Linked DNA regions of Homo sapiens: region 1 is linked to region 2. The links are contacts of gene promoters, found by promoter capture Hi-C in blood cells and fetal thymus (Javierre and others, 2016). All regions are on one chromosome and are shown on one strand. The core of a region is centred on a gene start or on the middle of the fragment in contact, and the rest is flanking DNA. Distances in the headings are between cores, read along the strand shown. Region 1 has its middle 77 kb from the start of EXTL3-AS1. Region 2 holds the start of KCTD9 (potassium channel tetramerization domain containing 9).

Evidence for each region. Contacts are between HindIII fragments. The CHiCAGO score rates a contact against its expected background, and 5 or more counts as called.
Region 1: a contact is called between a fragment that was not itself captured here and the fragment with the promoter of KCTD9 in region 2, in 3 of 17 cell types (fetal thymus, naive CD8 T cells and total CD4 T cells). The highest score is 6.0, in fetal thymus.

The regions. Positions count from the first base shown.
Region 1 is chr8:28,622,744-28,626,369 of GRCh38, forward strand. It overlaps a transcript of EXTL3 not described here. Among named protein-coding and RNA genes, the nearest start is that of EXTL3-AS1, 77 kb to the right of the region's middle. RefSeq lists a silencer at 1-14. The HindIII fragment of the contact is 877 bases long and covers 1,136-2,012 here.
Region 2 is chr8:25,457,172-25,460,740 of GRCh38, forward strand. KCTD9 (potassium channel tetramerization domain containing 9) reads right to left here and starts at 1,262. Exons shown (of 12, transcript NM_017634.4): 1 at 1,028-1,262. The coding sequence starts at 1,075. CDCA2 (cell division cycle associated 2) reads left to right here and starts at 2,062. Exons shown (of 15, transcript NM_152562.4): 1 at 2,062-2,302; 2 at 3,069-3,129; 3 at 3,213-3,383. The coding sequence starts at 3,069. RefSeq lists enhancers at 311-360, 1,731-1,960 and silencers at 971-1,020, 1,381-1,590. The HindIII fragment of the contact is 4,823 bases long and covers 1-3,361 here.

The DNA.
Region 1 (3,626 bases), core at 324-2,823, 3.2 Mb after region 2:
GCCGCTGGCGCTGTCGCCGGCTGCAGTGGCCGCCGCTGGAGACCGCGGGACCTGGCGCTGCAGCGAGGTAGGGGCTCTTCGGGATCTTCCCTTTCGGGGGTGGGAAGTCTTTTCTTCGTCGTGCCAACGGGAGAAGCGGCGAGCTGCTAAAATTTAGAGACGGCTTCGCACTTCTCGCTGTAGCCCGGGCTTTACCCGGGGGATCGATTTTAAAACTCTTTGTCTGGCCCCGTCGTCCTGCCCGCGGGCCGGACGTGGGGCGCCTGCTCTGGGCGTCTGGGGCGGGCGATTGCAAGCTCGCGGTCCATGTCCCCTGCCTCGGAGTGTGGACGTGAACTCCGGGGTGGGCTGGGCTGGGTTTCTACAGAGGCGGGAATTTGTGAGAACTGGGAGAGTGTGGCTGTCGGCAGGGGTCCGTATCACACTGTGGGCGGGGGTCCCGACCCCTGCTGCCTCGGGTACGGGGTAAGCGGCATCTGCCACGCGCCCGCCTCGCGCGCTGTCAGGAGGCGCTGTCCCCGTGGGTAAGCCCGTGCCGTGGGTGCCCTCCAGTCCCTGCAGCCCCAAACACACCTACCCCAGAGGACACCACAGAATGCGGACCCCAAAGCCAGCCGTACCTGCGAGCCCCTCAGCACAGCTGACTTTAATTTGGGATCCCACAATTTGAGCTTTTCAAAAGTTAAGTTTGGCAGATTGGAAGCCCGGGAATAGGGGGCGCTCGGAATGCTGAGTTTTGTTGGTGTTTGTCCTCAGCCTGTTTCTGGGTCACCCTGCAGGGCTCCATCCGTTCAGTCTCACCCCTTGGTAAGCATGTCCTGTCCTGAAGGCTCCATGCTGAAAGTCTAGACCCCATCTTTGCCTACTTTTCAAGGCTTGGCAAAGCACGTGTGTCTTTTGATCCTTATCCCCCATGTAACATAATTCATGTTTTTAAAGATATGTTTTTATTTAAAACCTTCCCCCTATATTTTCATTCCCATAAATACGAATTGGTTGATTTTACTTGTGAACTCCTTTAGGCATTTAGTAATAAAGGTTATAATTAGGAAAACTGAAAGATATTCATCAGGTAAACATGATCCTCCTTAACAAATTTGCTGCTCGTAAAAGGCAGCAGATGGGAAATCAGGCAAGCTTGGTTTTAAAACGTTTCTGCCTCTGAGAAGGTTGAACTATTAATATTATATTTATTGTTCATTCCAAGTCTAAAATGCTAGCAATGAACTCACATTCCTTTTTTGCTAGACAGTCATACCTGTTGACTTGAGATAATAAGAAAATTCTCCTCATCCCCAGAACTGAAGAAAATTCTTTCCAATTGTTCTCACCTTACCTATCCCCAGGGAAAGGAGATAAGTCTCAGAGTTGTTGGGATTCTAAATATTTTGTTAAGCAGAAATTCCTGCTGGTCCTTAACAAACTCTGAGTACTTTGCTCTGGAATTATCAGTTCTTTTTCAAAATGTGAAATTATGAATTGCCTATTACATACAATATTCCACATCTCACGTTAATATTCATTTAAAAGCATTGTGAGGCCGGGTGTGGTGGCTCACACCTGTAATCCTAGAACATCCGGAGGCCGAGGTGGGAGGATTGCTTGAGCTCAAGAGTTCAAGACCATGCTGGGCAACATGGCGAAACCTCATGTCTACAAAAAATGAAAAAATTAGCCGGCATGGTAGTGAGCACCTGTGGTCTCAGCTACTTGGTAGGCTGAGGTGGGAGGATCACTTGATCCTGGGAGGCAGAGGTTGCAGTGAACTGAGACCACCCCACTGCACCCCAGCCTGGGTGACAGAGTGAGACCCTGTCTCAAAAAATAAAAATCATTTTGTAATTGTGAGTAAAAAGAAACAAATCTTTAAAAGATTAAAAACAAGAAAAAATTAGTATATGTTAGTGATTACCATTTTGACTTCCCTGGAGGGACAATAAACCCAAAAGATAAAACCAAAATCTAGTTATTAATAGTCACCGACACCATAAGAACTAGAAGGCACCATCTGAAGCTTAAAAGGAAGTTTAAAAACATGTTAAATTCAGACAATAACTTTGCACAGTGGTTTGCAAACATCAGTAAACCCAAACCCTCAAGTGATTCCTATGGAAAGACACTGACACTCAGATCAAGAAATTTAAATACAAATTCATGGGCTAACTAAAAAAATAAGCAGATCAAGTATCTCCAGCATCAACTGTGAATACACACACGTTAGGTTAATTTAAAAAATGACCCACTGTTTTTTACAATCTTCCAATGCCTGTATGCTTCCAAAAAGGCACAGCTGGCATACTTTTTGCTTCTAAAGGAGGTAAACTTTAAAAACTGACCCGCAGTTACAGACCGGCACTTAGAGGAGTTAACTCAAACAGGTGAGTGACTCACCAATTACTCATTTTTTCTGCAGATTATTTACCTACTAAGTGCAAGACTGGACTCATAGCTTTAGCTCACTCCTAGTGAAAACACTGCACATAGGATCTATAAATGGAGGCTGTGTCATCAAGACCTCAGAAGTAGGGGCCGGCATATTTCTTAGACACTGATGAAACAGAAACATCTCTCAGAAGAACCATAAAGACATGAGTAGCTCTGTGTTAAAACACATCATTTATTTTGAAGGGAAAAAGGAACGCAGAAAGAACAATAGAGAGGAACTCAGAGCATTTCCTCTGTGGCTTCCCCCTTTGTGGTGCCAATTTAAAACAAAATTATTGTCTAATGATACTAATTTTTAAATAATAGTCATGTAATGTGAGGTTATAGAAGTAGTTATTCTGAAGGAGATAGTCACTCATACATGAACTGTCCAGGTTTCCAATAATAAAAACATCACTCTATTCCTATTCATGTATTTGTTCAATAAACACCCTAGCACAGTTTTAGGATTAGGAATATGAAGATAAATAGTTTAACATCTGACTTTAAGAAGCTGATCTAGTTGGGGAAATCAACCCAGAGATAATTATGCAGTTGGTATGATGATAGATGTCTGCTCGTAGTGCTATCGGACCTCTGAAAAAATCAGTGCCTGAAATTAGTATTAAAGGATGACTAAGTTTTAGCCAGAAGTGGGAGGAGACTGCTCCAGGTAGAGGGAACAAACATTAACAAAATCATGGAGGTAAAGGCCAGGCACGGTGGCTCACGCCTATAATCCCAGCACTTTGGGAGGCCAAGGTGGGAGGATTGCTTGAACCCAGGAGTTTGAGACCAGCTTGGGCAATATAGTGAGACCACATTTCTCCAAAAAAAAAAAAAAAAAAAAAAAAAAAAGCCAGGTGAGGTGGTGCACACCTGTTGTCTCAGCTACTTGGGAGGCTGAGGTGTGAGGATCTCTTGAGTCCAGGAGGTGGAGGTTACAGTGAGCTGAGATTGCACCATTGCACTACAATCTGGGCAACAGGGTGAGACCCTGTCTAAAAAAAAAAAAAAATTAAACTAAAAAAATTTTTTAAATGGTGGAGATAAAGTACCAAAATATGAGGCCTAGAAAGATATAGAATAAGACTAAAGAAAGAGGACGGGGTCACACCATAAAAAGTCTTGTAAAGGCAGGGGGAGCCACTGGAAACTTTGGTGGGAGAATAACAGGATCAGATCTGCTTTAAGCAGCTTAC
Region 2 (3,569 bases), core at 12-2,511:
CTGAATAATCGGAAAGCCATTTTTAATGCCACTGGACAATTTCACTATTTAAAAATTTACAGTGTTCCCCGAATGTGCAGGCAGCAGAGTATTTTGGCAACCAACACAGCGAGACCCATTTACCTTTACCTTAGACTCGTAAAGGCTGAGTTACTTCTAGGTATCATTTAGCAACGCAATAAATGTCTGCCTCGAACAGTGAAAATTTCCCAAAGGAGCAGAACAACTTTCATGGGTGGGGCAAAAGGCTGGGAAGGAAGAGAATTCGTTTTGGCTTGCTCCAGCGCTGGAAGAACACTGAGCACCACACTCTCCGCAAAGGCCTAACACAGCAAAGGCGACTGTCAAATCGATCCCTTTTGGGTCTGCTGTACCCGTCCTCTAGGGAATCAAAATAAGGCAAAATAATAAAAAGAGTACAGAGAAGTTTGGCGGCGGCGGGGCGTGGGGGCTTGAGGCATCTCAGAGAGGAGGGCAAAAATCAACAAGAAAATGCCCCCATTTTAAAAATCCTGTCTGCGACCTCGGATGGGAGATTTTGTTTATCCACGGGCAGTTTACTTCTGTCTCCCTGACCCATCTCCACAGGCTCTGGTGCTCGCCGCCACTTTCCGAGCAGATCATTACTCAGCACCGGAGCCGGCGCGCCTCCTCCCGCAGGCGGGAGCGGGGTCTCGGGGAGAGGCGGGAAGAGGCGCGACCGCCCGGGCGCCCAGGTGACCGCGGCCCTCCCCGCGCCCCCGTCCCCGCGCCCCCCGCACCAAGCATCCGGGAGACCCGGAGCCCCCGGGCCGAACCGCGCCGGCCCCCAGGCAGCTGAGGCACTGAAGGGCAGGCTCGGGCACGGGGGTCCTGAGGGTCGGGAGGAGGCCGCGGGGACCCTGTGCTGTCCCCGAGCGCCCCCAGCCCGCGCACGCCCACCTCCCAGCCCCTCTACCCAACTTCACCGCTGCCCCGCCAGCCGGTTCCGCACCGTCCGCCCTCGCCCCGACCCCCGGCCCGCCGCGCCCCCTCACGCCCCCGTTACCTTTCCGTTCTTGGGGCTGCCGTTCAGGAACAGGGTCACCCGCCTCATCGCGCTGCCCCCGCTGGGTCCTGAGTGAGCCGCCACCCTCCCACCTGGTCCTCCTCCCACCTTTTTCTCCTCCCGCCCTTCCCCTCCCTCCACCCACTCGGATTCGCCTCCCTTCGCCACCTTCCTGCCCTTGGGGACACACCACACGCACGCACTCTGTCCCACACCCAAGGTTCGGCCGGTCCTCCTTCCCACCCCGCCCCTAGGCTCCTCAGCCTGCCTGGGGCCCTTCCCCCACCTCTCCGAGACTGACACTCTGCCGTACCAACCAACCCGCGTCACCGGACAGAGTCCAGCCAATCAGCACCCAGTATCGGGCGGGCTCTGGCTAACCTAGCCGGGACGGAGGGAGGGAAGAGACGCTGAAGGCTAGTAGACGGGAAGGGGCATCAGCCAATCAGAGAGGCTCCTGGAGCCGGACGGCGGCTTCCAGCGTTACTGAGCAGGCGCACCCTCTAGTTTAGGTAGCGCTTATCTGCATACGAGGGCGGGGTCTGGGGAAAGGAGGTGGAGCGCTGAAAGGGACCCAAGCACCAGTCAGCCCCTCCTCCAGCGTTAGCCCCGCCCACAAGCCGGCCCAGCTAGGAAACGGCTGCGGTAGGGACGGACTGATTGGGTAAGAGCCAGCTCGTCGCTCTGTTAGGATTGGTTGAATGAGTCTTTTCGAAGTTTGCAGCATCCAATAGAAAGGTGGGAGGCGGAGTTAAAGCGCTAAGAGAAGCGTTACTCCGCGAGACTCTCCTGAAAAGTAGTCCCCGAGGTCACAAGGCAGTGGCAGGTGTCTGTAGTCCTCGGGTTGACTGCAGCTCGCGGTGGTCCCTCTCCGAGCCCAGGAAGCCACTCCAGTGCCGAGGGAGAGGCCTGGGAGCGCTCGGAGTGTGCGCGGACTGGAGAAGGGGGAGGTGGCGGAGTGATTCGTAGAGTAAATTCGGTACCGAGGGGCGGGGTCGGGGATTTGAATCGGTCGGCGGGCGGAGGAGGCGGGTGGAGGAGGCTGCCGGGCAGAGCGCAGGCCAGGATCAGCGCAGGCTGTGAGTCCAGGTCAGCCGTCGGGACCTCGGGCTCCGGGTTCGAAGAGCGGCTCCCGGCTGCGGGTGCTTTGCCAGGAGAGCCCTTCCGGACAGAGGAGCCGGGGTCTGGAAGGAGCGGCCGACGCGACGCTCGCCTGCCACGGGGCTCTGGGAGTAAGCCTGTCTGCCTGGCGGGCCTTCAGGTGCGGCGTGAGAGGTAGGATTGCATCCGCGCTGCCACGGGGCTGTTTCTCCGGGGCATTTCTAGGCACTTTGTTCGGCTTACCCTGCAGCACAGAATTAGTACTCCTGTCAGGAGCTGCTCTGGGTGACCAGGAGTGCATCCGGACCTGTTGAGAGAATTTCTGGAAATGGATAGAGCTGCGTCTTGAGAGGGGTACCCTTATGATTCAGGTTTTCGCTACGGTTGAAAAGCCATGGCTTATCCTTTGGGGTCTGCTTTGGTGCCTGAACAGCAGTTTTCTCCATTTCTTTCTGTTTAATTTGGCTTTAAAAGTACGCGCTTAGAGTAAAAGAATGGTTAGCACAGGGTGGGAAGTGTATTGGGGATGGATGGGAAGGAAGTGGAGATGGTTAATAGGTAGAAAAACAAAGAATGAATAAGATCTAGTATTTGCTAGCACAACAGGGTGGCGGTCCATAATTTAATTGTGCATTTAAACATAACGAAGTATAATTGGATTGTTTATAACAAAAAGGATAAATATTTGAGATAATGGCTACCTCATTTACTTTGATTTGATTATTACGAATTGCATGCCTGTATCAAAATATTTCATGTACCCCATAAATTATACATCTACTGTATACCCACAGAAATTAAAATAAAAAATGAAACCTGTGACGTGTGTTTCTATGCCAGTATGGACTGTATTACAATTCAGTCCTGAATAAGGTACGTGATCGAATCACGTTCATCTTGCTGGTGGGGTTATTTTTCATTGTTTTTCTTCACCTCTTAGATGGATGCCAATTCAAAAGACAAGCCCCCTGAAACCAAGGAGTCTGCAATGAATAATGCTGGTATGTGATGATCTGCCTCCTTGTGAAGTTGAAGGTTTAGACAGAGAGTTGTCCTCACCCCTACAATATGTCGTCCGTTTCAGGAAATGCCTCTTTCATTTTGGGAACTGGGAAGATTGTGACTCCTCAGAAGCATGCCGAATTACCTCCTAATCCTTGCACACCAGATACTTTTAAATCACCTTTGAACTTTTCCACAGTAACCGTAGAGCAATTGGGAATTACACCTGAAAGCTTTGTTAGGAACTCTGCAGGTAAGAAAAGTTGTCATTCTGTTGTAATGCTTTTCAAGTTTAAAAATAACTTTAATATAACTCAGCTTTATTTGTTTATACGTACTGTCATATTTTAGGTACCTAAATTGCCTACTCTGCAAACTTGCTTCTTCAGAGAGACTTCTTTGCACATGCACAGTTCATTTAGCATAGCAGGGATCACGG